7 separate regions of the Homo sapiens genome follow, and all the other regions are linked to region 5. The links are contacts of gene promoters, found by promoter capture Hi-C in blood cells and fetal thymus (Javierre and others, 2016). All regions are on one chromosome and are shown on one strand. Each heading gives the region's core, a stretch centred on a gene start or on the middle of the fragment in contact. The rest is flanking DNA. Distances are from core to core; before and after follow the strand shown. Region 1 has its middle 230 kb from the start of LINC00332. Region 2 has its middle 170 kb from the start of LINC00332. Region 3 has its middle 210 kb from the start of LINC00332. Region 4 has its middle 230 kb from the start of MIR4305. Region 5 holds the start of FOXO1 (forkhead box O1). Region 6 has its middle 150 kb from the start of MIR4305. Region 7 has its middle 250 kb from the start of LINC00332.

Region 1 (4,265 bases), core at 1,064-3,563, 710 kb after region 5:
AATGGATTATCTGTCTGTCTCTGAAGCCGTCTTTGAGAGTGCTTAGAAAGAAAGTTCTGTTGTCTGTTAGATATTACAGAATATCAAATCAGGTAATTGGTATTTTTGAGCAACCAACGGGTATACTCTTGCCTATCACATTCAGAGGAAGGTCATCAAAATGTACAGAAGTATTAGATAGAAGGAATCCATTTATCAACACCAGTTTAACTATGCACGAACAAGAGCCTTTATTTCACAGAGACCATTCAACCTATCCAGAAAGTCTACTCTACACATTCTTGTGTGCTGGAAGTGAGGGGATGGAGGAGATGCTCCCCTTAAATGCAAACTGCCTTTTCACCCTGCTCCCACACCTGCCCTCCCACAATTACCTCCTGCCCTCCTTGACTGTATCCCTCTCCTATCAAAGTTTCTTCCTCTTCCACAAAGCAAAAAGTGGTAAAATGAAGACTCCAACCTAGATAGAGACTTTTGAGCTTGCTGCCTGCTCCAGGACTACTTCCCAACTAGTTGTAAAGCTCAACCACTTCTCCCTATCATTTCTGCCACCACAATCCTCAGACCATCATCATCTTTTCTGTGGACTGGCTTCAGCTTTCTAGCGGACTACTGATTTGATAACTTTGATCTGTACTCCATCCCACACTGGAGGGGGCTTTCAAACACACAAATGTGAGCATGCCACTTCAGTGTTTAAAACCCATTAACAGCTTCCCATTATTTTAGGTTAGGAAAAGTCTAAACTTCTTAACCTGACTTACCAGGCCCTCTGTGGTTGGCCCCTTGCACACATCTGCAGTCTCATCTCTCACGTTTCCATATTCCATTCCTCCTTCTAGCTGAGCTGAGTGTTTCCCCTGCTCTCTGTTATGCCTGGGCATTTTTCCATGTATGTCCCTCTCCCTAGAATATTCTTTGCCCTTTCAACTCCCAAGTACCCATGCAACCTAATTATTATTATGGAACCTTTATATTTCGGCTTAAACACCACATCCTCAGGTCTCAACTTCTCAGCAATTTAGGGCCCCTTACTCTCTGTTCTCCTATCATTCTTCCCCTCTCAAAACAGTCAGCATGCTCACAATTATATACTTAGAGACTTCCCTTCTAGACCAGGGGTCAGGAAACTATGACCCTCAGGCCAAATATGGGCCGACACCTGTTTTTGTAAATAAAGTTTCACTGGCACACAGCATGCCCACTCATTTACTTTCTCTCTCTGGCTTCTTTTACACTGCAGTGGCAGAGTTGACTACTCGGAGCCACTGAAATATTTACTATCTGTCCCTTTACAGAAAAGTGTTTGTTGGCATGTGCTCTAGACAATATGTTCCACGATTGTAGAGACTGTGTCTGTCTTAAGTATCGATGTATCCTTAGTACCTAACACAGTGCCTAGAGGTTAGTAGGTGGTCAATAAATATGTGTCAAATGAAGAAAAAAGTGAGTGAATGAAGTGAGTGTGTGGAAGATTTGATGAAAACCATGGAGACTCTTGTATTACCCCACCTTTGGAAGGACATGAATTAAACAAAGTAGAGAAGTAAAGGGGATGTGCAGACCCTGACTCTTGCTTGGTTTGTAACTGTGTCTGTTTGACTGGGGTCTGGGGGAGATTTAGGCTTCATATCTCCCCAAACCTGCTCCTGCCCCTACCTTCCACCTGTTCCTTCCTACAGTCTACTGCCTAGTCCAGCCTCTTTAATCACCCTGTCAGAGCCTTCCTCTGTCCAGGTCTCTGCTGGCTGTAGGTATTTAATAAGTAAGTATTGCATTAATTGTAAAGTCTACAGTTGTCCTCCAGTGGCCCCCATGTCTAGTCCCAGATCCGCCCCATGATTCCTCTTCCCTCCAGGCCTCCTCCAGCCATATGTCTTGGTGTGAATCTTTTCCCACATGCCGGCAGGTTTACTTGCCTGGCGCACTTTCCAAGGACAGGCCCTGCTTAAGGTCACCCTGATGCTTCTGTTGTGTCTTCATCAGATTCAGCAGAGCCTTCAAGCTACTCAAGTAGCCCCAAGGAGGAAAGGCAATTAAAGCTGACTGAATCACCAAGCAAACCACCCAGGAAATCCCCTCTGGGTCTCCTGTGATAGATCTGACTTCTGCTTGAAACCTGGTTCCATCCTCTGCCTTCTGACCCCACTTTCACACTGGATGTCAGAAGTCTGATGCCCTTGGAGTACTTCTCTGTGTCTTCTGGAGTGAGTCCCTATTAGCTCTGCTATCCTCTTACTGCAGACAGAATCTGATGTCCAGCATCACATTTTACTGTCTCCTGTAATAGCTCCTTCAGTGAATGCCAACCCTGATCACAACTTATCTAGCTTCTTGCCTTCTTAAATTTTCTTTTCAATCTAGAATGACCTCCTCTATGTAGGGCATCCCCATCTATGCCAAACTACTTGAGGCAGTATTTGATGTTACTTATTGGGAATCTAAGAGGATCTGAGAGTAGAAAATGAGGCTACATACTAGGTATGGTGCAAATCCATTCATACCCATTAGCCTCAAACCACAGACACAGTTTGAGCTTGTGACTTACTTTAGAGATGCCCACAGCTGTTGAAGACACACAGGACACAAGATCAGGGAACCAGGAAATCTGTTACTAGAGTGACAGGTTTTTTTTTTTTTTGAAAGACTGAAATCCAATCTGTATCTCAATGGTTACTTCAATCACAGTTTAGTTTCATGTTGAAGCTGCGACCCATGTAATACAGGCAAGGACAGATATTGAAATACCTTGGTTAAGAAATGAAAAGAGTGGGCCGGGTCCGGTGGCTCACATCTGTAATCCCAGCACTTTGAGAGGCTGAGGAGGGCGGATCACTTGAGGTCAGGAGTTCAAGACCAGTGGCCAATGTAGCAAAACCCCATCTCTACTAAAAATACAAAAATCAGCCAGGCATGGTGGCGGGTGCCTGAAATCCCAGCCACTGGGGAGGCTGAGGCATGAGAATCACTTGAACCTGGAAGGCGGAGATTGCGGTGAGCCGAGATCACACCACTGCACTCCAGCCTGGTGAGAGAGGGACATTCTGTCTCAAAAAAAAAAAAAAAAAAAAAAGGAATAAATGAAAATAGTGCAAACTCAACCATTATTTAATGGAAGTATTCTGGAATGACAGTGGTGACTTTACAGGAGTTTTTGTGTGGATGGCATGCCACAAAAGTGAGCGAAAGAATACATATTATTTAATCCTCTTTTTTGGTGTTGGGGAATGAATCTTCTGAGAGAAGCTAACTGGAGGAGTGTGGATTTGAAGCAGCCTGGGAGAAAGAAGCAAATGAATTTCCTGGGACCTGTGCAGGCTGCATCTAGAGTGAATTCCAGGTATTCAAAAATACTGAGTGCCTAGTAGGTATGTGACATTGAAATGGCATCAGAAAACAAGGTAGATATGGTATCTAGCCTCACTGAGCTTTCAGTCTAGGTTATAAAAATCGACCTGATTCACAACACAACAAGGGAGAAATCTTACTCTACCAGGAGGCTTCAGTAATGAGATTGGTCTTGCCACGAACCACCACACAAGAAAGAAGCATTTGCCATCAATATATGAGTGCACGAGGGTCCCCAATGAGGCAGCTGCCTATATTGACAACTGGGAGGCACTCCTGGGAAGATGAGGGATTGTGAGATATTATCGGGATTCCTCTTCCTCCCAGATTAGAAGGGCTGGGGTTGGAAAGAATATTTTGCAAGTCAGCTGGAGAGCAGGGCACAATGCTTAATTTGCCTCTCCTAAGCTCCTGTGGCTGAAGAAAATGCCTGTTTCATTAGCACAGTGCTTGCCATTCAGAAGACACATTTCTGCTTCATTCTTTTCAACTCTATTAAGGATTATTTTTATTAATGCTTATGGTAATTTAGGCATGACATGGATGACAAGGCGTAACAGTATGAAACTCTTCCAAAGGATGCTGAAAATACTAAGGCATGGTAAAATCCAAACGTGTCCTCCTCTCATAGTTTAGGTAGGAAGTTTTAGAAGGAGGATGGACACACCCACATTTAGTACTTTGTTTGACAGCTTTTCCCAAGCTGACCCTGACTTCGAGGAAATAGAAGAAAAGCAACAGGATTCCAAATCTGAGCAGCCCTAATCTGAGAAGAGGAATTCTGGTCCCTGTGTGTGAGGCCATCTTAACGATGACACTGGAAGGTCCAGATGCCTGATTTGGGATGATGGGTGGAGGAGCAGATCTTGGTATCTCAGATTTTAAGGTAATAAAATCTGCAATGACAGAAAGGCAAG
Region 2 (4,255 bases), core at 511-3,010, 650 kb after region 5:
CTTATTAAAAAGTTGAAAGTGGCCGGGAGCGGTGGCTCAAGCCTGTAATCCCAGCACTTTGGGAGGCCGAGGCGGGCGGATCAGGAGGTCAGGAGATCGCGACCATCCTGGCTAACACGGGGAAACCCCGTCTCTACTAAAAATACAAAAAATTAGCCGGGCGTGGTGGCGGGCGCCTATAGTCCCAGCTACTCAGGAGGCTGAGGCAGGAGAATGGCGTGAACCCGGGAGGCGGAGCTTGCAGTGAGCCAAGATCACACCACTGCAGTCCAGCCTGGGCGACAGAGCGAGACTCCGTCTCAAAAAAAAAAAGTTGTAAGTGTATGATATTTCTTTAGTAAATAACTTATGAAGCTAGTGGAGTCAGTGAAGTAATATGCCAATTAAGCAATTAAAAGTGTGTTAAGGCATAAACTACCAAAGATGCAGCAATATGGATGAATTCCAAAAACATTACGTTGAATGAAAGAAATCAGCTATGAAAGAGTACACATTCAATGATTCCATTTATATGAAGTACCAGAAAAGGCAGACTAATCCATGATGATAGAAGCAGAAGGGTTTAGCAAGGGGAGGTAGGATTGACTCAGAAGGGTCACATAAAATCTTTCTGGAGTGATGGAAATATTTCGTATCTTGGTAGGGATATGGATTAAATGGGTGTATGCACTTTTCAGAACTCATTGATTTGTACAGTTAAGATCTGTGCATTTCATTGTGTGTAAATTATACCTCAATGAAAAAATTTAGGCATGTTATAAATCAATTTCTAATGATCACTTTATGTCAATTTTATGACATCTTATTTAACACCTGAGTAGCTAGTTTCATTTAGTCACAATAAATGGAGAAGATATCAATTGCTAAAACCTGTTCATGAGATAGCAGAATAAAGTGATTCTAATAATAATATTACTTCATTGCATACTGACTATATGCCAAGCACTATGCTATTGCTATCTTTGAGAAAACACTCAGACATACAGAATTTGAGTATTGTCCCAAATATTAATAAAAAATAAATGGCAAAATTCAGGTCTCTGTGAACATGCAGTCCCTTACCTTCAACTACTGGGGCAAATGTGGTCTCTTTTAGAGAAGAATGTGAGAGTTTCCAGTCTTTTCAATGATGCAATATGCAAACAAATACTTACTGAACCTGTGCTCTGTTCCAGGCACGGTGCTAAGTGTTTCATGTTGCTATCTCTGTAGAGTTACTATTGCTTTCTTTTTTATGGATGAGGAATTTGAAGGTCCAAGAAGTTAAGCAACTCCCTCAGATCACAAAATAGGTACAAGATCTCAGATTCCATTCCAGGGCCAGTGAAATCAAAGTCGCTAGTATTTTCTACTTTCAGTGATGCTTAACTAGGAGCTACATCAGAATCAATGATAGGGAATTTTTAAAGTAGAGATTTCTTGACCCTTCCTTGGGTGTTCTTATCCTATAGATAATAGGAAGCTCAAAGATTGATCTTTTTTATAAAGCCCCACTGGTGATATAAGGAGCTTCCTACCTGAGAACCAGTATACTAAGCTGTCATTGGTTTGTCAATAGTATTCCTTCCTCTTAAAATGTCTATGAATTTATCTTATTGTAAAAATTAAATAGAGAGGAGCCCTCCTGTAATGACAGACAGACAGGAATAGACCTCAGTACATCTCAGTTTAGCTTTCACATCTGCCGTTAACTGACCGTAGGGTTATAGGCAAAGTCAGTGAAACTCTCTGAGCCACAGTATTCTCATTTGTAATATTAAAGTGTTGAACAACACTTATCTTTAAGATCTCATTTCGTTCTAACAATCAATAAATTAAAATCAACTTATTAGTTAAATTCTGCAACGCTTTTGAAGTACTTGGAGAGATTCTGGAGTTTCGTACAATTGGGTAGGAATTTGTTGAAATGTTGAAAATAAACATGAGACCAGGTGTGGTGGCTCATGCCTGTAATCTCAGCACTTTGGGAGGCCAAGGTGGATGGATCACCTGAGGTCAGGAGTTCAAGACCAGCCTGGCCAACATGGAGAAACCCCGTCTCCACTAAAAATACAAAAATTATCCAGGCATGGTGGTGCATGCCTGTAATCTCAACTACTTGGAAGCTGAGGCAGGGGAATTGCTAGAACCCAGGAGGCAGAGGTTGCAGTGAGTCAAGATAGCACACTGCACTCCAGCCTGGGCAACACAACGAAACTCCATCCCAAAAAAAAAGAAAAGAAAAAGAAAAGAAACATGAAAAATAGCTTAAATGTAGTGATATTTTCCAGGGGAACCTAGAGATACCCATTAGTTTCTAGACAAACTGATTTACCAGAGAAATCCAAGTCCTTGTTACTTCAAGAAAATTAAATAAAAATAACAATTCCATGTTTCATACCTGGGTAAAAGTTACAGCACTGTTCAGATATAATGATGTGCAAGAAGTGGTCTTTACCTCCAAGCAGGGTTCAGGAGATGCCACGAAACAGTACATAATAAACTCTCCAGTGTCTTTATAGACTGTAGGTGCTTCTAGTTGTGTTCAGGAGGTGGCAGCAGTGCAGGTTACAGTCACTGGGCCATTTGTCATTTGACTTGACAATATGAAACCTGTGTCTCACAACAGGTCATTCATTGAGAAATTCCTCAGAAAATACAGGTTAAGACTTTAAACTTGCTGTATTAGGAGTAAGAAGTCAACCAAAGACCAGAGAAGCCTGAATTGAGAGGAAAAAGAGAAAAGCACTTCATTTGTAAAACTGGAAGAACAAACACAGATGGAAGGAACTGGAATCACGAAGAAAGGGAGCCAACAATGACAGGTAGATATATGGAATTGGAAAAGCACAGAAAATAGGCTCAGCAGCAGCTGCCCACTCAGGCCCCACCAAAAGAGGGGTGCTAGCTACGATAAAGCAGTGATTCTGGTGTCCACATTGCTCTCGACCCCTGTTTCTGCACTGACGCTGTTCTACAACTCTGATCCAGCTAGGCTCACTCTTCTTCTCACCCTACTGCATGGGCTTACTCAGATCCCCTGCTGTGTGGGGCATGCCTGCTGCCTTCTTTCCCCTGGCTTCAGCCTCCACTCCACTGCTCTGGTCTCTTCTCAGAGCCAAGCTAAAGCCAGGTACTTATGAGGGGGAGAAGCCTGGGTGAGGGACTTGCTTGAGTGAGGGAAGTCAGGGCCTGGGTTCCTGCAGTCTCAGAGAACATGGTCCAGCTTTGATTCCCTTTTTTCTGCTTCTTTCTCAATTTTGCTTTTATACTGCTTCCTCTCATACGTAGTCATATATATATATATATATATATATATATATATATATATACACACACACACATTTGTATATATGTTTGCTGCATAAGTATATATATACTTATATGTATGCATATATAAATTATGTATGCCGTATAAGTATATATCAATCTATATATACTTATACGGCATACATAATATGCCATATAAGCATAATATGCTGATAAGTATATATCTATATATATACTTACACAGCATACATAATTTATATATGTATATATACATATATAAGTATACTTGTATATAAACATGTGTAATATGTAAATCGTATAACATGTAAATTTATATATGTATATAAATACAGATATACACATAAATTTACATATTATATATGCATATGCATTTATGTATATATAAATAAATTTATATAGTCTTTATATATTGCCTTATTTTATAGTTTATATATAGTTTCATATTTATATAGTAATTTATATATAGTTTTATATATAGCAGTTTATATTGTTCTAATATATAGTGTTAATTATTTTGATTAAAAAGTTTGAAAAAATACTTAAAATAATATTTTAAAGTTGATTAAACTAACCTGATAAAAAGCTGAAAAGGTACATGTTTAGAAAGAGGAAAAATTGAGGCATTCAGCTATCTTCCTATAGACTTTTGCTCTCTCTATGTATTTTGTATTCTTCAAAGAAGAGGTTTGATTTTGTTTTGCTTTTAAATATAAAGCAGTTAATTTGGGAAGAACTCTTACGTAAAATCCTACCTCATGGCTGTCAGGTTTTCTTTGGGGCTAACCTGCAGATTTCTGCCAATAACTGATTATACCGATCTCTTGTCTAATCAGTTGTATCCAGGGTTATGTTTACATCACTTAAGTAGGAAGCCTATGGAAAAAACTGACCTCAACAATTCCTTTGGTCATCCTGTTTTAGAAAGAAGCACTGGACAGAGCAATCAATAAAGAGTTTATGGACTTTTCATTTGTGTCATCAGAAA
Region 3 (3,693 bases), core at 811-3,310, 690 kb after region 5:
AACCTGTAAAGTGAAAAATGCGAACATGGATAGTTTTTCCTGCCCGTGTTTTACCTAAGAGTGACCAAATGCTTGTTGAGTGAAAGTTTTTAATTACAAAAGAATTCCAGCCAGTAAATAGAAAAGAGATGATAGAATTAGAATATCGATATTTTGCAAACCCTAATGAAATACCCATAGCTAAAACCATTCCATGAACTTTATGATGAATGAATCAGGCTGACCATGCTCAGATCCACTGATCGATCTCAATACCACAAAGAAAACCACACAACATATGCCTCCTGAAGATGGAAAGGGAAGTACGCAACATTGTCTATAAGGTATTCTTAATATAACCTTGAACCTGAATAAGACTCTGGATCCAATTTCCACCTTGCAAGAAATATACGAGATAGTAGAAAGCATTAAAGACATGGGGATGGAAGCAGCAAAATCCAGAATACAGGAAGAATGTAGGAAGCTCTACAGAACAAGCAGCCCGATTTCTTTAACAAATATATTGCAACAGGAGGAGAGAGAGGTTGAGAATGAGAATCTATAGATGTGATATAAAAGACATATCGACTGAATTAACGCAGCAAGAAATCTTGGGAGAACAAACACATTGACATAGGGTCTCCAAAGTATTTATGATTGAGGATGGCCTGTGTCATCAGCAAGCAAATGCTGGTATGAGGTCACTGGTATGGAGGGGGAGGTCTCAAAGAGAAAAGCACACAAAGAGAGAGCGTGAGTGGAGGCCCTGGTGACCAATCTTCCCTCCTTTCACTCACATTCAAGGTCCACATGGCTTGCAAAATGTGCACTCACATTTAGGGCATCTACGGGGCATAGGGCTCAGTGCACATTGTCCCTGTTTAAGATCATCTCTCACCCTAACAGTAGCCTGAGGGTAAGCTCCCACTACTGCAGAATTTAAACTCTGTGTTTTTATTCAATACAAATATCACTGTCCACCCATGTAACTCATGTACTGCAGTGAGCACTTGCACATACATGACCTCACTTAATATTCACATTGTGCTAATATTGGAATTATTTCTAGTTTGCAAATAAGAAAACAGACTCCAAGATATTAAAGGCAAGAGTAAGTTCACATAGATAACAAAAGGCAGAGCCTGGATCCAGTTTCTGACAATAAATTCTAAGCTTTTTTCCCCCTTAAAGTCCCTTAAGTGGGGAGAAATTAGGTTCTATTGGGCTTCTCTGACTTATCCTTTCCTAATGAATGATGACAAATGTCACACCCTCTCTCTCACCCTGAAATCATCTCCATCATCAGGGCAATCCTATAACACTCCATACGAAAAGTAGATCTCTTGGGGAAATTTTCTTTCTCCTTCTCAGATCATTTTTATTGGAGTTGAAGGCAAAAGATAACTTTTTTCCTCCCCAGTCATTTTGAGGCGTTCAGACTAAAATGACACCCTTGTCAAAGTATTCTTAATGCTGTGCTCACTGCTACACAAATGCAGACAGATGATGGAGGGGAGAGGAGGGGTGAAGAGGAGGTGTCCCTGAATTGATTAGAGATTGCTCAAAATGGATCATGCTCAACTGAATGATCTCCGTTCTCCCCATTGTTTTCCATTCTGATGGAGTAGCATCTGACTGGTAGGCGGAGACTATTTGGTATCTTTTTTTATGTAGTTGCCAATTCTCCCCACTTGTGTCTTGTCACTTGCAGGCTCATGCCTGCTGTGAGGCGGATTACATGCGATTGTGTGGGAGTAGGGTTGCTCAGAGGAGCAGTCTCCCGACACGAAATATTGCCTGTGCAGGTAAGAACTAGTCTTCAGAAAAGGAGGAGTCTCCCCAGAAGCTACTTTTTGCTCATGCTAAATAACAAGGAAAGAGGAGACTGAGAAAGGGCTGTAATAAAGAGGCACTAAATGATGTTTCAGAGAAGATGTCCTGTGCCCTGGAGCGTCCAGGTGCATCTTTATGAAGTTGGAATTTTATAAACCCATTTTGCCGGAGAGTAGATCATGAGTACGTTTGCTCATTCTCTTTTCCTGCTCAGCTACTAAACGCATTAGAACGGGGGGTTAAACTCCCTGATTTAATCTATAGAAGCCTCCATATTATATATTCTTCACAGGGAAGAAATCATAGAATGAGGTCTCCTTCTTTCTGTAGTTCGGTATTTTTTTCTGTCATATTGTCCCTTGAGGTTACAGCATAGATTATGAAGAGAATCTTTTGTTTCTGTCACTTATTACCACATCAGTTCATATATTTATAAATAAGATGTGCTTTGGTATGATATAAAAAATCAAAACCAGGGGAGCTAAATGATTAATATATGAGCTCATCCATAATGATAATGGTGACAATGCCTGCACAATACCATTCTTGTTAATTAATTCAAAATAATAGCACAAAACTCAAGAGACCCTTTGCTTTCAGTCCTTTACATCTTATTGGTTATTGCTTTCTTTGTCTGCATCATGAAAACCATGAATGCATGAGCCTGAATACAAAGGAATTATGTGGTTTCAAAAGAGAGCCCTTGAGTAGCTAGAATACAACTCTGTTAGGAATTAGCTAAAGATGCTTTGGAGGACTGCTTCAAATTATATAATATATACACTGGTAAGGACCTATTTAATAACATTAAGGCAGTATTTGCCCATTGGCTGCCTGAATGAGTCCTCTTATCTCATATCATTGATTAGTTATCTAAAGTCAGCAGATGATCACCTGTTCTTATCCATTCAGAGGTACAGTGAACATGTACTGATGACGCTTAAGGTTATAACAGTGTCAAGTTCAGTCTCACTGTTTGGGCCAGGTGAGATTGGCAGCATCCTCTTGTAGTATTTGCTTCAAAGAGGTTAGTGCCTATTTAAGAAACTACCATAAGCTATCTCAAGAGTAAAAAATGAATTTATATAATTTGTTCAAAAGCATGTCAGGGATATTATTCAGATTTAGAAATTGAATCAGGGACAAACAAGCTTACCTAGCATCTTTTGGCACAAAAGATATCCAGTCTTAGAACTTGGCCTTAGGATCACCTAAGATTTTTTATTTGACAGAATACTTAACTCTTTTGAATACTTACATCATTGAAGGTGTCCACTGAAACACTTTATGCGGACTTGCTAATTTAGAAGACATGAATTGACATTGCGATGACCTTGGGAAGAGAGATAACATGGAAGAAGAGGAGATAAATGGGAGAGGATTTTGCTGTCTATCAGGATGGAAATTGATAAGCCATTTTTTAACACTCCATAATGGATCTGCCATCCAATATCAATAAAAAATCACCTGTCTTTGTGAGGAGACCTAATTCAGGAAGCTCACACTAGAGTAAGCCATGGCACAAGGGTAGAGGACTTTGCTCATGTCACATTTCTTAACACAGATCCAATATATCACAGGTGCTTGATGACTCCCTGCTGTGTGTATTCATTCATTCATTCATTCATTCATTCATTAACAAATGAGCTAACTGTAGGATTTCAAATCAAATGCCCTAATCTTTAAAAATCTAGAAAAGATAACACAGCACACACTCATATAACTAACACCTTGAATTTAAAATATAGCAGCATTTTATAATATTGTCTTCCAATATTTTTTAATGAAATAAAACATTACCAAAAACGTTAACATTTTTACCCACCTCAATTCTCAACCTTCTTCCCCCTTTCATAGAGGCAATACTAGGTATTCTTTTTC
Region 4 (3,872 bases), core at 1,326-3,825, 770 kb after region 5:
ACAGAATATTATAGACGATAAAGCTCTTGACTGGAAGACAGGAAACATGTGTTCTTATCTTGGGCAGCCAGCTAACCAGCTATAGGATTTGAGGCAGGCCATCTGTAGGCATTTTTCTTCATCTGCTACAGGGATTGTGCTACAGAGATTTCCACGGATGTGGAGAAGAAAAGTACCTTGTACCTCTAGGGACACAGAAGAATCTATAAGGGTGCATATTTTTATGTCCCAAACTATAAGAAGTGAAATTACTGAAAATTATCTCGGGTTGTAGAGATGCATAGAAGCTTCATTGAAAAAGTGTTGTGTGAGAAAATCAGTTTTAAAATGTTGAAAATACTGGGCAAGAATATCTTTAGGATCTTTGATTTCTGATATTTATGAAGATCTTTAGGTTGCTTTCATTTCTGGAATTTTTGATCGCATCAGTCATTCTCTTTTCCTGTGCCCTGCCCCCCATGGAGTTTGTTATAAATTATACAATCCCCACCGATGCTTTCTAGGCCTTTTACTCCTCCAGATTTCCTAATGAAAATAAATAATTCTTTCTACTCAGTAAGAAATATAATCAAAAACCAAAGGACCAAGTCCTCCGAACAGGAAGCTCGCCCAGCCCAGCTCTCCCATTTGTGTTCCCTGCCGCTCGGTGCTGCCAGAACTGGGATGCTGGAAAGAACAGTGGGTTGAATTTCAGATCTGAGTCTTTTTGGTCCTGTGTTTCCCACTGTTGATGGGGTTCAGGACACACTACCCCAGAATATTTTAAGCTGAAAGAATTTTAGAAAACTGCAGAAGCAGGAAGGTCACTCTGATCTTCCCCCCACCTTTCTCACCTGCAGCAGGTCATAAAACCTAAAAAGCATTTTCTGACCTTCCCCGGATGCAGGGCATGAGACCCTCATTCATGAGGTGCCCTCCCTATACCCAGAGAAAAGGCATAGCCTTATCTCTGAAGATACAGGGTCACAGAGAAGAATCTAAACAAACGAGTCTTGCTAAGTTCCCCCCAGTTATTAGATCCAAGCATATTCTTCCACAACTGTCTACTCTTCATCAAACTTAGCATAAAAATACACAAGTTTACTATTTCTTTGTGTCTCTATTTCCTTATGAAGGCTTTCGTGCCACATAAAACTTATACTAAATACATTTGTATGCTTTTCTCTCGTTATCAGCCTTTTGTTATAGAGGCCTCAGCCACAAACCTAGCTTTGGTGAGAAAATGGTGCTTTTCTTCTCCTATACTAACTATGCAGATGACAGGAGCACTCTTTCACCTCCTGGGGCTCAATCCCTGAATGAAAAATTTCCATTTTTCTTCCTGTACTCTTAGAATTGGCCTAGAATCAGCTCTGGGGAGAGCTCCCTTATTGCAAGGAGACCAAAAGACTCTGAGGGCACTCAGTCTGCCAAAAGAGCCTTCCAACTAGAGCTCTGTTTTTCACAAGAGTCTATTTGGGTTGGGGTGAGGGACAAGAGCCCTCAGAGAAAATCCTTCAAGAAAAGCCCCAGCAGAATGGCAGCTCCAGGGACAGGGATTTTAAATCAGGGGAGCCAGCTGCTCCTTCTCCCCATTCCCATCTCAGACCCGCAGAGACACCAAGAGGAAGACGGGTGACAGAAATCCTTAGCAGTTGTTTGGTGACGGTGGCACCTAGGAAACAAACTATGAGATATAGAACCAGTAGAATAGGGATGACCAGTGTGAGAGGGATGCAGGAGAAGTAAGGACTCCTGCGAAAACATCTGGAGATGATCATAAACTAAACCTTTTTAAATACTATTTTAGAGTAAATTAAATGACACCATATTATTTATCTGTCTTTGCCACTTGGCCTCAGGAGAAGCTGGTTTCGGAATGAGACTCCAAAGAGTGGATCTCAATGGGCAGCCTCCCAATGATTTTTTCCTCTCCTAGGATGATGTATTGGAAAGAAACACTGTGAGTCTCTGCATCCCAGAATGCGAAGTAGAGCCCCTCTGAAGAGGGACTCTGGTAGCAGTGAAGAGGTGGGGTGAAAGTTGGTTCCGGTGGGTAGAAGACCTTTCCCTGCACCTGAAGACCTACATTGTCGTGGGACAAGGGAAGAGATCATTACAACTGTAAAGAATTAACTTGCATGAATAGTGAGGCACTGGAGTGCAGTGAGCCCAAAAAAGGTTAAGCTTTCTTATTCACACACACACACACACGCACACACACACAGAGTGGGAAAAGATACCTGAGAAATGGACACTATTTTCCTAATGACTGCCAAGAGTTGACTGTGGACTCCTTCCATCAAATGGCCAGATAAGCAATGGGGCCCTTCCTAGCTAGGACTTGGAAGCATTTTGGTCAAAGGAATGGAAGGGCTGAGCCTGTTTTGCTGACTCCCACAGGAAGTGGTGGGCCGAGAGCACAGCTACAGGCTTTCCTGTGCAGCGTAAATTGGCCCAATGTGTGCAAAACATTCTTATCTGATAAAGAATGGAAGTGCGAGCGTGTGCTAAAATGTTGGAAATAATATGGGGTCTCTGCTTCACTCTTCCCTCATTTTTCTTTCTCTGTTGTCTCTTCTTCATCTTTGGCAGTCATACTGGGCTCTGGGTTCTTTTCTAGCTTCTCATATGGTTTTGATTAGGAGAGACAAATATAACACAGAACAGAGCTGATCTGAGTTCTTCCCTCTTCTTCTGGATGAATATGCTTAATTGTTAATCTTCTTGTATGTTTACATCAGGAATACACACACATACGCACAGACACACAGACAAACACACACACACACGTATATTCAACATAAAAGCATCCCTTTTTAGCCTATCCCTTTTTAAAAGATGTCAAGGAAAAAAAAGTATTAATATAAAACCAACTACACTTTGCTAAAAACTATTTCTTTTCCAGGAGGAATAAACTAAACCTGTAATCAGACATTTGATTTCCAGTCCTGGCTCAGCGTCTAACTAGCTGTGTGCCTTTAGACAATTTTCTTGAAGCTTTTGGTGTTAATTTTCTTATCTCTAAAGATGAAAAATTTGGATTAGGTAAACTCCCAAGTACCTCCCAGGAGGTGTTATGATTATCTTTGTGAGGTATATTGGTACCACATTTATGATAAAAGCTAAAATGGGTCTCTACATGCACACGAAAATGAAGGCAAAAATAGCAAAACAAAACAGGCATTTGTATGTATTTCTCTAATGAAATTTTTTAAATGGCCAAAAAGTAAAGTGTTTTGCAGTTTATTAGCACCATTTTACTAAGCACATAGGAGCAGCAGGAACACAGATTTCAGAGCCATGTACAATATCTGACACTTAGAATGCACATAGTAAATGTCTGCTGGAGGGTGTACTGCTCTAGCTGCAGACAGGGTAGCATAGCCTAGTGACAAGAGCACAGAATTTCTAATAGTAAGACTCAAGTCTCAGCCCCACTACTTACAGCTCTGTAATTAAGAACTAGCCTTTCTGAGCCTCAGTTTCCTCAACTGCACAATGGGATGAATTCCTGCACTTCAAATCTTGGGGTAAAATCAAATGACAAAATACGTATGAAAATGTTTCACAAAATGTTGAGTACTTGCAAATGTTCAATTTGTTCTGTCACTGTCCTAAAGATACATGTCTGTTTCCTTAAACTCAGTATTCATTGGGCACCTTTGCACACTGTGATAAACCGATAATTTTACCCCAAATTATAGCTGACTCATTCAACTTTAAACTGCAGGAAGTATACCTGGCCACTAAGATGAATGAACAAGAGAAATGAACACACCCATATAATTTTTTTAAATTACCCAGTAAATCCATCTCACCAGATGAGCTGAGAAGTCTTTGCTTTCCAAATTCTACAGCCTCTAGTAGGGTGCTAGAAGTCTTTCCATCCT
Region 5 (3,957 bases), core at 669-3,168:
TCTGCAGAGTGTAATTGGAAAGGTGGGGGGAAGCAACAGCTGTACTTTGGGGGCCTGCCTTTGAGCTCATCATCTGAGTTACTGAGGTCCCCTAGCGGCTGTCAGAGGAGGCCCAGACTGTCCAAATTTGATAGTAAACGTGAAGAGACCACAAGACCAGGGTGGGAACCAGTCCCCGCCCGTCCCCAATCCATCCGGCTCACGCTCCCCACCCCACCCATGCCTAGTATCAGCAAGAAGCTGTTGTGATAAATAGATTATGAAGAAACAGGAGCCCGGACTAGAGAGACGATAGTGAGAATATAAAAGAAGAAAGATAATCTCTCTCAATCTTTTTAACTTTTGTAAGAGGCCTAATTTTTCCTTTTTTCCCCTCTTTTCTCTTTTATTTTTTCAACAACCTCTTGTCCAACTGACTAATTTTCTCTAGATGCCACTTTTTCCATTGCAGAATTACTTGTAAGAAAGAAAGGGATTAAAAAACAAGAGTTGGAAGCTGTCCTTTTGGACAAGATATTTAAAACCCTACTGTCCATCTTCCATCCTAAGTGGTCCCATCTTTCTAAAAGGAAATGCCTTCCATATTCTTCCTAAAAAAGCAAAAGCATAACAAAACAAAACTGGAAAACTGTTTCTTCTGCTTGAGACACAAGGGCCATTATCTTCCCACCTTTGGCCCCACTGATCCTTGACAGGATGTCCTGGACCTGCAGCCCAGATGAGGAAAGGTGGGGTGTGGGTGGGGGGTTGACTGACACACACAGCAAGTAGCCTCAAGGAATTTGGGGGTGGGGCAGGCTGCGCCCCAAGGCTTTGGTCCTATCTCCCGCCCCCCTTGCGTTTTTACTTAACACCCGATCACTTCCGTTGCAAATAAAAAAGAAGTAACAAACAGCTAAATTTAATTAGGGATAAGTAATAAAATGACCTGGTTCTCTCTAACTGCGCTCCTGAGCCCTTCGCTGCCGGCCCTGGACTTAGTGGACGGAGCGGGAGATTCCCGCCCAGGGGAAGAGGTTCCCACGGAGGGCATGCGGTCGCGGGTGCCTTTGGATTCGTGTGTTCAGGGAGGCCAGATAATCTCCTCCCCGCGCCGGAGCCCCTGTTCCTCATTTCTAGCATTTTAAAAAAGGTCAAGAATACAGTGAATCCGGCTGGGGGCTGCCGGCTGGGTGACGCGCCTCTGGCTAGACCGAATGGCACAGGCTGAGCCCGGGGGTGCGGACCGGTGGGCACGGAGAAGGGTCCCTCGGCGCGGACTCGACTGCAGGAGCCGCGGCGCCGGGGGTGGGGGGCGTGTGCCGCTCGCGAGGGGGCCGGAGGACTTGACAGATCGCAGCGAAAGAAAACATTAAACCAAAACAAAACCCACCGATTCCCCACGTCGTTCAGCAAAGACATCGTGGGTGGAGCCAGGAGGGAGCGATTGAGTAGAATTCCTCGCGGCCGCCTCCGCCCGCCCACCCCGCGCCCCCGGCCCTCGGCCCCCTGCCCTGCCAGCCCGCCGGGCTCGGCCCGCAGCGGAGGTCAGGGAGCAGCGAGCGCCTCCTCCCACCCGGGCTTCCCGAGTACTCGGCTCTGCTGCTCCGTAGTAAACAAAGTGTCGCCGGCGCCTCCACGCTGGTTTGCTTCCTAGCAATCAAAACACTGAGAAGGCGAGAGAATCACAGAAACACTCGAGAATTACCAGAAAATAATAGAGATCCAAAAAAAAAAAAAGGAGGTGAGTGTGTGAAAGAGAAAAACACCCCACTACCCCCCACCAGCCCACCGCCGCCTCCCCGTGGAAAACCGGGCCCCACCCAGCCCGGCGCCCACTGGCTGCCCGGGCGGCGGTGCCGCATGCCCATTGGCCGCGCGGGCTGTCGGTCAGGGGCGGGCCGGCGCGCGCGCCGCCGCGGGCGGGGGGCGGCGGCAGATCCCGTAAGTCGGGCGGCCTGGTAGTCGCAGCAGCCGCTGCCGCAGCCGCCACATTCAACAGGCAGCAGCGCAGCGGGCGCGCCGCTGGGGAGAGCAAGCGGCCCGCGGCGTCCGTCCGTCCTTCCGTCCGCGGCCCTGTCAGCTGGAGCGCGGCGCAGGCTCTGCCCCGGCCCGGCGGCTCTGGCCGGCCGTCCAGTCCGTGCGGCGGACCCCGAGGAGCCTCGATGTGGATGGCCCCGCGAAGTTAAGTTCTGGGCTCGCGCTTCCACTCCGCCGCGCCTTCCTCCCAGTTTCCGTCCGCTCGCCGCACCGGCTTCGTTCCCCCAAATCTCGGACCGTCCCTTCGCGCCCCCTCCCCGTCCGCCCCCAGTGCTGCGTTCTCCCCCTCTTGGCTCTCCTGCGGCTGGGGGAGGGGCGGGGGTCACCATGGCCGAGGCGCCTCAGGTGGTGGAGATCGACCCGGACTTCGAGCCGCTGCCCCGGCCGCGCTCGTGCACCTGGCCGCTGCCCAGGCCGGAGTTTAGCCAGTCCAACTCGGCCACCTCCAGCCCGGCGCCGTCGGGCAGCGCGGCTGCCAACCCCGACGCCGCGGCGGGCCTGCCCTCGGCCTCGGCTGCCGCTGTCAGCGCCGACTTCATGAGCAACCTGAGCTTGCTGGAGGAGAGCGAGGACTTCCCGCAGGCGCCCGGCTCCGTGGCGGCGGCGGTGGCGGCGGCGGCCGCCGCGGCCGCCACCGGGGGGCTGTGCGGGGACTTCCAGGGCCCGGAGGCGGGCTGCCTGCACCCAGCGCCACCGCAGCCCCCGCCGCCCGGGCCGCTGTCGCAGCACCCGCCGGTGCCCCCCGCCGCCGCTGGGCCGCTCGCGGGGCAGCCGCGCAAGAGCAGCTCGTCCCGCCGCAACGCGTGGGGCAACCTGTCCTACGCCGACCTCATCACCAAGGCCATCGAGAGCTCGGCGGAGAAGCGGCTCACGCTGTCGCAGATCTACGAGTGGATGGTCAAGAGCGTGCCCTACTTCAAGGATAAGGGTGACAGCAACAGCTCGGCGGGCTGGAAGGTGAGTGGACTCGGCGCGCGGCCGGACCTTGGGGGCGCGGTGGGTCAGGCGAGGGCGCAGCTGTGCAGGTTTGCTCGGCCTGAAGGTGCGGAGCAGGAGGGCAGCGCGTTCCCAGGAGGGCGGGCGAGAAGCGGTGGTCGCGGTGGCCTCGCCCGGGTCCGGTCGGGGACGGCAGTAGGTGTGCGTGCGCGCCAGTCAGGAGTTCGCGTGGGACGCGGTAAGGGGCTCGTTGGGGAACTAAGTAAAGAAAGTGCGCCAAGAAGTGGACGTCAGAGCGAGGCCGAAAAGTTTGCCAGTGAAAGGAGAAAGGGGTTCGCTGGGAGCGGCAACCCCCGGCCCGCGCCGACTGCTTCGGCTGCCCCTTCCCTCCCGGACCTCCGCGGGGGGAGGGCGGGTTCTCTCCGGCCGCGCCGCGGAGCTGTTTCCGCCGGGCGCGGCGGGGGAGGGCGCGGCGAGGGGCCCCGGAGCCTCGCTGCCCCGGGACCGGGCTGCAGGTGGAGGGGACAGGCAGGGCGCGACCGGCCGGGGACGGTGCAGGGCCTGCCGGGCAGTTTCTGGAGGCGGTGCGCATTTTGCTTTGTTTTGGTTTTCTCCGGAGTGGCCTCGAGTGCCGGGGGCCCGGCGTCCCGAGCCCGAGGTGGTGCCTCCGACACGTGCGAAGGGGCGGCCACCGCCTGCGGAGCGCCGGCGCCTGGCCGCGCGGGGCGAGCTAAAGTTCAAGTGTGACCCTCGGCGGGGGCGGGCGCGGGCGGTGGCGGTGGCGGTGGCGGTGGCGTGGGAGGGGCCCCGGGCGCAGGAAGCCCGCGCCTTTAAAGGGCCAGCGCGTCGGGGCCGGGCGCCGTGGGGCCAGCGTTTCTCCATGCGGGGAAGCGCCCGAACTTGGTCTTGCCCCTGGTAGGAGGCTTTTAGTTAGAAACACAGAGGCTGCCCTGAGGGGCCGGGGGCTGGGATGTGTGAGTCTTTTCCTGCCTTGCCACCCTA
Region 6 (4,098 bases), core at 633-3,132, 850 kb after region 5:
GACATTATCTCATCTATGGACAAATAAAATGATGAGGATGGCAATTCACAATATTTCTAATACACTAACAATAGCTAATACTTATTGGCTGTTTGCCAAGTCAATAAATGTTATTTATCAAGAATGAGGCACTGGGTACGGTGGCTCACGCCTATAATCCAGCATTTTGGGAGGCCGAGGAGGGTGGATCACTTGAGGTCAGGAGTTTGAGACCAGCCTGACCAACATGGTGAAACCCCATCTCTACTAAAAACATGAAAATTAGCTGGGCATGGTGGCGGGCACCTGTAATCCCAGCTACTTGGAATGCTGAGGTGGGAGAATCACTTGAACCTGGGAGGCAGAGGTTGCAGTGAGCTGAGATCACTCCATTGCACTCCAGCCTGGGCAACAAGAGCAAAACTCCATCTCAAAAAAAAAAAAAAATTAAAAGAGGCTAAGTTCCTCACATTGATTTTCGAATTTATAAGAAAACATCCATTCCTTCCATCTTACATATGAAAAACTGACATGACAAAATTAAGTAACTTGCTAAAGGTCATACAGTGCATAAGCTCTAGATTATGCAGTGGCATGTTAATGTTAGATCTAGATTCAGGGTAAGAAAGCCAAGAGACAGAAGAACAAAAAAGGAGAGACTTTTGCAGTGACTACTACATTTAAGGTGTTAAAGACTTGTCAGTAAGAGATAGAAAGTATTGAGCATCGGTTTTTCTAACACTGTTGTTAGTTCTTTTTAACCCCCATGTTTTCTTAGATGAGCCAGATTGCAAAGTCTCTGACATTGGGGAACATGTCTGATACTTTGAATCTACTATGGGACCGGGCACACAAATAAATGTACCTGTCTGAATTAAGCAAGCTTTTTGCAAAGTTAAAATGGGATCTGGTGGTGAATGGGGTGTATTTACAGCTTGAGTCCCACTTACTTTGTGCAGTGGAGGAGTTTTACCCAAGAACAATCAGCGTGTTTTGGCAGCCCCAGGAGAGGCAGGCATGTCTCTTGAGAAAACAAAATTTAATTTTCTTTTTTTCAAGTGGTTCTACACAGATATTAGAGCCTGGGTGAAAAGTTAGCACAAACAACAACAACAAAGAAACCCTAAGAAAGGAGATGCATCACCCAGGATGCTGCAGGCCTTGATGAGCAGGTTTAAAGCAATGGTGACAATTGGAGCTAAAAATTGTCACAAGAATCTGTTGGAAAAGCCCAGGGTTCAAGAGTCACATGATATAAGCTGAGCCTCCCCACAAAGCAGCAGAGGAGAGACCCCTACGACAAACAGAGGTTCCACAAGATGCCCAGATGTGGGGCTGGAACAGGCAGTTGTGCAGCGTGGCTGCTCAGCAAAGTCCTAGGAGGCACAGAAAGCAAACAGCAAGGGGATGGGAAATGTGCAATTGTTGTATGATATTTTTGGTGACTTGAGCTAGTGTTTGCCAATGGGAAAGCATCAGGAAATCCAAAAGGATAAGTTTCACACGTGTCTGAATGGCTCAAACTCAAATACTCACTCAGATTGGAATCAGATCCCCAGGAGGTCACCTGGACCCTTTCTGCCACAAACACAGACTCATACAAGTAACAGGAATAATTTCTTATTTCTCCCAGTTAAATGATGGTGGAGATAAATTAGGTCAACATTTCTTTCTTACAGCTATAAACCATGTTTTTCAGAGATTCACAGTGGTGTCATATTAATATTAATATCATCTTGATTTTGCTGCTTTATGTTAACCCCTGTGTGGTTGTAGGAACCTCCCCATCTCCTTTAATTATAAATGGGAATCCCTGGGGTTCTCTCATTCTCACTGACATTCCTTTTGGCTCCCCTGTGTGACTCCCCGCAGTTATATTTCCTCTCCCATCTGAGCCTCCATTAGGACCATCTATGTCCAGGCGTCAGTTCCCTAAAACCGCATGAAGCTCTCCACCTCCACCTCTGGTACCCACTGGTGTGCAGTTTCCCACTGTGCCTCTAGGGCCACTGCTGTCACCAGTACCACTCATCACTGCCTCGGCCAGGCCCTGCAGGAGCCCTCCAATGCCACTCCACCTGCTGCGTACTGAACCTTTGTGCCCCCCCAAATTCATATATTGAAACCTTAATTCCCAATGTGATATTTTTATATGCAAATGTATATATTTGGAGGTGGGACCTTTGGGAATACATTACATTATGGGAGTGGAGCCCTCATGATGGGATTAGTGCCCTTATAAGAGACATAAGAGAGCTTGCTAGTTTGCTTCCTCTCTCTCTCTCTCTCATTCTCTCTCTCTCTTTCTCACTGCCTTGTGAGGACATACCAAAGAAGAGAGCCCTCACCAGGAACCAAATTGGCTGGCACCTTGATCTTGGGCTTCCCAGAGTCCAGAACGGTGAGAAACAAAATCTGCCATTTAAGCTACCCAGTCTATGGTATTTCTGTTATAACAGCTGCAGCTGACTGACACATCATCTTTCCTGCCTCTGTCCTGATGAGTTCAGCTGGCACACTGGGGCCACGTTCTCTGCAGTACTCAAAGGCTGAGGCCACCACACAGCCTTGTGGTGTCATTGCTGAAATGGGGAACTGCCTCTCTCCCAAGTGTGAACACAGAAGTCAGGATACAGGCACTTCCCTCTACCCCTGAATTGTTGTGACATAATTCTTTCCACTTTCACTCACTGCACTCAAGCAAATTCACTGCAGGGTGGTGGGCAGGAGGCTTCTCTGGCAGTCCACCAGACTCATCGGACTCAGACTGGTTTAGAGCGGCGCCTCACGATGGCATAATGAGTTCTGCCCTACAAACATTACCAGGTTATGTCCAGCACTTGAAGATTATTGGAAGGATATGAATACATGCCTCCTGAGGCTTCATAGCTATTGTGAAAACGTTCTTTGCCAGTCAAGCTTCATTTCACAAAATCAGCATTTCCATTTCAACAAAAATGGCATGTCCAATCCAATTTTGAGTGCTCTTACTCAATGACTTGACAAGCCCCAAAGTCATCTGCTACTGGGGTTTGGTGTTGGGGGGGGAGGTGGGAGGTGGGAGTAGCACGGGAGACACACACCTAAGTGTGGTGGAAGGAAAATGCTGTCCACTCTTCTCCTGGCACCAGCCAGGACTGGAGAGGCCATGGGTGCTCCCTAGAGGATGTTGTCTGCAACTTCTCTGGGAACAAGAGACATACATTCCCTTCCTCAGTGGTAGCCTTGGGGCAGCAGAGGCGTGCTGTGTAAGACAGGAAATCAAAGTGCAGGTGATAGAGGACTCAGAGGGCTTCCAGTTGGGAGCCAGAAACTGCTAACCTTAGAACTTTGTTAGGCTCTGTAACTTGGGCCAGAGGGATATGGTGTGGTAAGAAGAATGTGGGCATTAAAGTGACAGGGGGAGAATTCCCTAACGTCATCGGGAGATAGTAATGCCTCAGATAGTAAATGGACAGTCATTCATAAGGGCCAGAGGCATATGGTGTGGTAAGAAGGACGTGGGCATCGGGGTGACATGGGGAGAATTCTCTAACGTCACTGAGAGATGGAATTGCCTCAGATCGTAATGGATAGTCATTCAGAAGGGCCAGAGGCATATGGTGTGGTAAGAAGGATGTGAGCATTGCCCCAGATAGTAATGGACAGTCATTCAGACTGTGTGTGACAGTGAACAGCCCTGGTGTTGTGCTTACTGCATGGAAGGCACCCCACCACATGCTGTGATTCTTCACGTGCCTCTGCCCTTTATGCGCTCAGCCCATTTTAACAGGACCCGTCTTCAAGAACAGCAAATAACAGGGCAGCTGACATATTGGGTCCACTCTCCTTCCACTAAGGCTCGAAGAGGAAGAAGGAGGAGGGCGTGAATATCCTGGGATAGAGAGAGTGGTGGAGGCAGCAACAAACAGGTGAATCTGCTGAGGGGGCTGCAAGGAAGGGAGAAAAGGCTGAGAATGAGGAGTCGCCTGTTGCTGAGAAAGGCCCTGAGTTTGGAAGTGCATCCACCTGGAGAAAATCCAGCCTGCGTGGACACCATGCCTCTGACTCTGTTTATGTGCTATCTAGTACTTTGTGTCATTTCCTATTCTTCCTCTGCCTTACCATGTAGCCTTTCTG
Region 7 (3,965 bases), core at 1,308-3,807, 730 kb after region 5:
CTCAAAAAAAAAAATAAAATAAAAAATAACTGAAGAGGGAGAGAAACCTAGGCAGGTTATTATGCCACACTGGATGGTGTTTTATGCAGGGCTGATGCAAATAACAAATAACAATCGTTGAGTTAACGTATCCTGCAAAGACTTGCTAGAGCTTCCCCTTGGAATCTCTACTGGACACAAACAATAGGAATCCATGGCCTTGACCATGGCAAGGCAAAAGAAGGTTTCAGGGGTAAGCTGATATTTTGAATATCCCAGTTCAAAGAATCAATAGATTCTTCAAGCAGAACTAAGTCCAATTACAACTCTAACCTACCACAATATAAAAAATAAAGTCAACTCTAATGGTTGCACACTTTATGCCTAGAGAATTTTGTAACAGCTATTGTAAAAAACACCAAGTTTAATTTTTTAAAAAAGCATAAAGGGAATTTAGTCTTCTAATGAGTGCTGGCAACCCAGCAGGATGTCCTGAGGTCTCTCTGTGAATGCATGCTGTGGATCTGACAAGTCATACGCATAGAGCTGAACTGGGGAAAGCTTGGCCAATGGCCAAATATTGAACAGAAACTAGACGATCTCTAGTTTTTACACAGATGCCTTTTTCTGATTATCAGAAAGACATTTAGTGCTAAACACATGTGAGTGAGAGATAAAAGGTTAATTAATACACACACACACACACACACACACACACACACACACACACACACAATTGTATTGTCATTTCCTGACCACACCAGAAACTGCATTTCAACTCACTGCAATTCTGCATAGTGGCACAACATGCCAGTGTGTGCTGAAGTAGCACCTTAGCTCTCCTGAACACAGTCAAGAAGCAGAGGGGTAGGCTCTAACATTTAATGGGTAACAACCACAAGCCAGGCTTGGTCTAGCCACTTTACATACAACCAGCTTTCAAAGTAATCCTGTGTGGGAGGGAAAACTAACACACATTCAATGTCTTCTCCATCAAGAACTTTATATAGATTAATTAAGTCCTTTAATTCACCCAAAGAGTCTGGACTGATGTTTTGAAACTTGCCTTTTTCACATTCTGAAGTATTACAAAGATTTTCCAATCAAGATGTGAAATATTCTACAACTTTTCAATGGTTACATGGTATTGACTGAATGAATGTACTATAACTTATTTAATAGTCTCTTACTACTGAACATTTATGAAATTTCTATTGTTTTCCTATTACATATAATGCAACAATAAACTTCCTTTTAAATAAGTTTAGTTCACTTCTGTAACAATTTTATCAAACTTTATTAGTAGAAACAAGTTTCCGGTACATTTTCTGAAATTTTGATTCATATATCATATTCTTTCCTGTTATATAGCATTAATTTATTTCCCCTGCCCTGAGTGTGTAATTTTCTTTTTATTATTATTATTATTATACTTCAAGTTCTAGGGTACATGTGCACAACGTGCAGGTTTGTTACATATGTATACCTGTGCCATGTTGGTGTGCTGCACCCATTAACTCATCATTTAGCATTAGGTATATCTCCTAATGCTATCCCTCCCCACTCCCCCTACCCCACAACAAGCCCCGGTGTGTGATGTTCCCCTTCCTGTGTCCATGTGTTCTCATTGTTCAATTCCCACCTATGAGTGAGAACGTGCAGTGTTCGGTTTTTTGTCCTTGCAATAGTTTGCTGAGAATGATGGTTTCCCGCTTCATCCATGTCCCTGCAAAGGACATGAACTCATCATTTTTTATGGCTGCATAGTATTCCATGGTGTATATGTGCCACATTTTCTTAATCCAGTCTATTGTTGTTGGACATTTGGTTTGGTTCCAAGTCTTTGCTATTGTGAATAGTGCCACAATAAACATACGTGTGCATGTGTCTTTTTAGCAGCATGATTTATAATCCTTTGGGTATATACCCAGTAATGGGATGGCTGGGTCAAATGGTATAATTTTCTTATAAGACTATGATCTCCTTTGGGTTTGTGATTATACCCACTTCCTTGTTACTACACCTGACTACCTATTATTACCCCATTGTTATTTGTTATGACATAAATTTTGTTAATTTGTGGTCTTTGTCTTTTTTTATTATAATTGCCAGAGTTTTGTCTAATTCATTAGTTCTTTTTATTTGTTGGGGTTTTAATCACAAATATTCAACTCTTAGATTTATCAATTGTAATATCTTACATTTCTCACATTTGTTTTTTACTTTTAGCTCTAAAATTCTTTTTTTCTGTAATTAAAAAAAAATCCGAATAAGTAAGTAAAATCCTTGCGTTTTTAAAAAAATTCTCATTTAATGATGGAAACATTTGAGGTTATGATTGTGTCCTTTAGCGCTGTTTTGATCTCATCCTATAGGTTTTGATATGTAATGTTTTCATTTTCAAACAGCCTATAACTGTAGTTTGATTATCTATTTGAGTTTATAAGTTAGAAGAGTAATTTTAATGTCCAAGTAGTCAGAGGGTTTTGTTTGGTTTTGAACATAAATTACTAATTTCTTGCATGGCTTTATGATGGTCTGAGAACTGGGCCTATCTGGTGATGTCATCCAAAACCCAGGCCTCCTTTCTTTCTATTTCTCCATCCTTAGCATATCTTTCACTTTCACACATTCATGTCATGGCCAAAAGATGGCTGCTGCAGCCTATGTTAGTGTTTAAGGCAGAGATAGGAAAGAGGATCTGTGCCAGCCAAGGTGTCCCCTTTCATCAGGAAAGCAAATGCTCCCCCAGAAACCTCTTTGGCATACTTTAACTCAGGTATTATTAGCGAAAACCAGATCCATAGTCATCTCAAACTCCAAGGGAGGCTTGGAGAGAGAGACAAGGATTATAATGATTGGCTTAGACTAATCATGATTGATTTATTGTCTAGGGCTGGGCACATGAATACCTGCACAAAATGAAGCCTCTATTAATAGGAAAGAAGAGGCAAATAAATTTTGTTGGGAAACAACTGACAATAACAAAGTGAGAATAATCCAACATTTTAGAGCATTATCATCATTATTAATTGTTTAACATTATTTAGCTTCTTTCTAAATAATAGTTTGACATTTGCATAAGTTTTATATTTACCAACTATTATTTAGAGTTAAATTTATGCAAAGTTTAATGTTTATCCTCAGATCTTTTAGATCACAGTTTTGTTGTTCTTGAATTCTTTGCAATGATTCATCGATTCATCTCTCATGAGTTCAATCACATTATCAATTTTTTCAGGAAGAACACATGATTCTTTCATATGCAAGGTTCTTGCAACTGAGCTGTGTATAAAATTATGACGTGTCAAGTTTTATTCTGTTAAACGTTGAAGACATTATGTTTTTTCTCTGTTGTAAAAAAGAAATTTGGTGTGCTTAATTATTAATTATTAGTAGATAAATTGTGCAAGTGTGACTGGTGGGATTTTGTTTTTCTTCCTGGGATGATGCTTTATTTTTGTAATGTAATCTGAAAATGTCTCCAGGATAAGTCTATTGTGAATCACTTTGCATTAATTATACCCAGTAACAGATTAAGTCCATCCAATTTGAAGACCCACATCTTACTTCAAATTAGAAAAAAATTCTATTATACTTTTGATCGTTAGAATTGTTTATTGTTTCCCTCAAAAATATAATGAAATGTTAGAATGCCATTATATGCCTTTACTTTTATGTACTTTTATTTTATTTTATATTTTGAGACAGAGTTTTGCTCTTGTTGCCCAGGCTGGAGTGCAGTGGTGTGATCTCGGCTCATTGAAACCGCTGCCTCCTGGGTTCAAGCAATTCTCCTGTCTCAGCCTCCCAAGTAGCTGGGATTACAGGCTTGCACCACCACACTCAGTTAATTTTTGTATTTTTAGTAGAGACAGGGTTTCACCATGTTGGCCAGGCTGGTCTCGAACACCTGACCTCGGGTGATCCACCCGCCTCAGCCTCCCAAAGTGCTGGGATTACAGGTGTGAGCCACAGTGCCTGGC

Evidence for each region. The method cuts DNA at HindIII sites, captures the fragments that hold promoters and counts their contacts. A CHiCAGO score of 5 or more calls a contact.
Region 1: a fragment that was not itself captured here is called in contact with the fragment with the promoter of FOXO1 in region 5 in 9 of 17 cell types (activated CD4 T cells, M2 macrophages, non-activated CD4 T cells and 6 more); the score reaches 10.7 in activated CD4 T cells.
Region 2: a contact is called between a fragment that was not itself captured here and the fragment with the promoter of FOXO1 in region 5, in 4 of 17 cell types (activated CD4 T cells, fetal thymus, total CD4 T cells and 1 more). The highest score is 7.2, in activated CD4 T cells.
Region 3: a contact is called between a fragment that was not itself captured here and the fragment with the promoter of FOXO1 in region 5, in 1 of 17 cell types (activated CD4 T cells). The highest score is 5.7, in activated CD4 T cells.
Region 4: a contact is called between a fragment that was not itself captured here and the fragment with the promoter of FOXO1 in region 5, in 1 of 17 cell types (endothelial precursors). The highest score is 7.3, in endothelial precursors.
Region 6: a contact is called between a fragment that was not itself captured here and the fragment with the promoter of FOXO1 in region 5, in 1 of 17 cell types (endothelial precursors). The highest score is 5.1, in endothelial precursors.
Region 7: a contact is called between a fragment that was not itself captured here and the fragment with the promoter of FOXO1 in region 5, in 4 of 17 cell types (total CD4 T cells, naive B cells, non-activated CD4 T cells and 1 more). The highest score is 5.8, in total CD4 T cells.

Annotation. Positions count from the first base shown.
Region 1 is chr13:39,954,047-39,958,311 of GRCh38, reverse strand. No RefSeq gene overlaps it. Among named protein-coding and RNA genes, the nearest start is that of LINC00332, 230 kb to the left of the region's middle. RefSeq lists an enhancer at 2,214-2,263. The HindIII fragment of the contact is 8,626 bases long and covers 1-4,265 here.
Region 2 is chr13:40,010,652-40,014,906 of GRCh38, reverse strand. No RefSeq gene overlaps it. Among named protein-coding and RNA genes, the nearest start is that of LINC00332, 170 kb to the left of the region's middle. The HindIII fragment of the contact is 5,126 bases long and covers 1-4,255 here.
Region 3 is chr13:39,974,634-39,978,326 of GRCh38, reverse strand. No RefSeq gene overlaps it. Among named protein-coding and RNA genes, the nearest start is that of LINC00332, 210 kb to the left of the region's middle. The HindIII fragment of the contact is 1,811 bases long and covers 1,155-2,965 here.
Region 4 is chr13:39,891,544-39,895,415 of GRCh38, reverse strand. No RefSeq gene overlaps it. Among named protein-coding and RNA genes, the nearest start is that of MIR4305, 230 kb to the right of the region's middle. RefSeq lists an enhancer at 2,250-2,544. The HindIII fragment of the contact is 813 bases long and covers 2,169-2,981 here.
Region 5 is chr13:40,664,602-40,668,558 of GRCh38, reverse strand. FOXO1 (forkhead box O1) reads left to right here and starts at 1,918. Exons shown (of 3, transcript NM_002015.4): 1 at 1,918-2,976. The coding sequence starts at 2,347. RefSeq lists an enhancer at 1,030-1,079 and silencers at 1,730-2,259, 2,490-2,629, 2,720-2,769, 3,290-3,799. The HindIII fragment of the contact is 11,472 bases long and covers 1-3,957 here.
Region 6 is chr13:39,809,729-39,813,826 of GRCh38, reverse strand. No RefSeq gene overlaps it. Among named protein-coding and RNA genes, the nearest start is that of MIR4305, 150 kb to the right of the region's middle. The HindIII fragment of the contact is 2,036 bases long and covers 865-2,900 here.
Region 7 is chr13:39,933,969-39,937,933 of GRCh38, reverse strand. No RefSeq gene overlaps it. Among named protein-coding and RNA genes, the nearest start is that of LINC00332, 250 kb to the left of the region's middle. The HindIII fragment of the contact is 4,030 bases long and covers 543-3,965 here.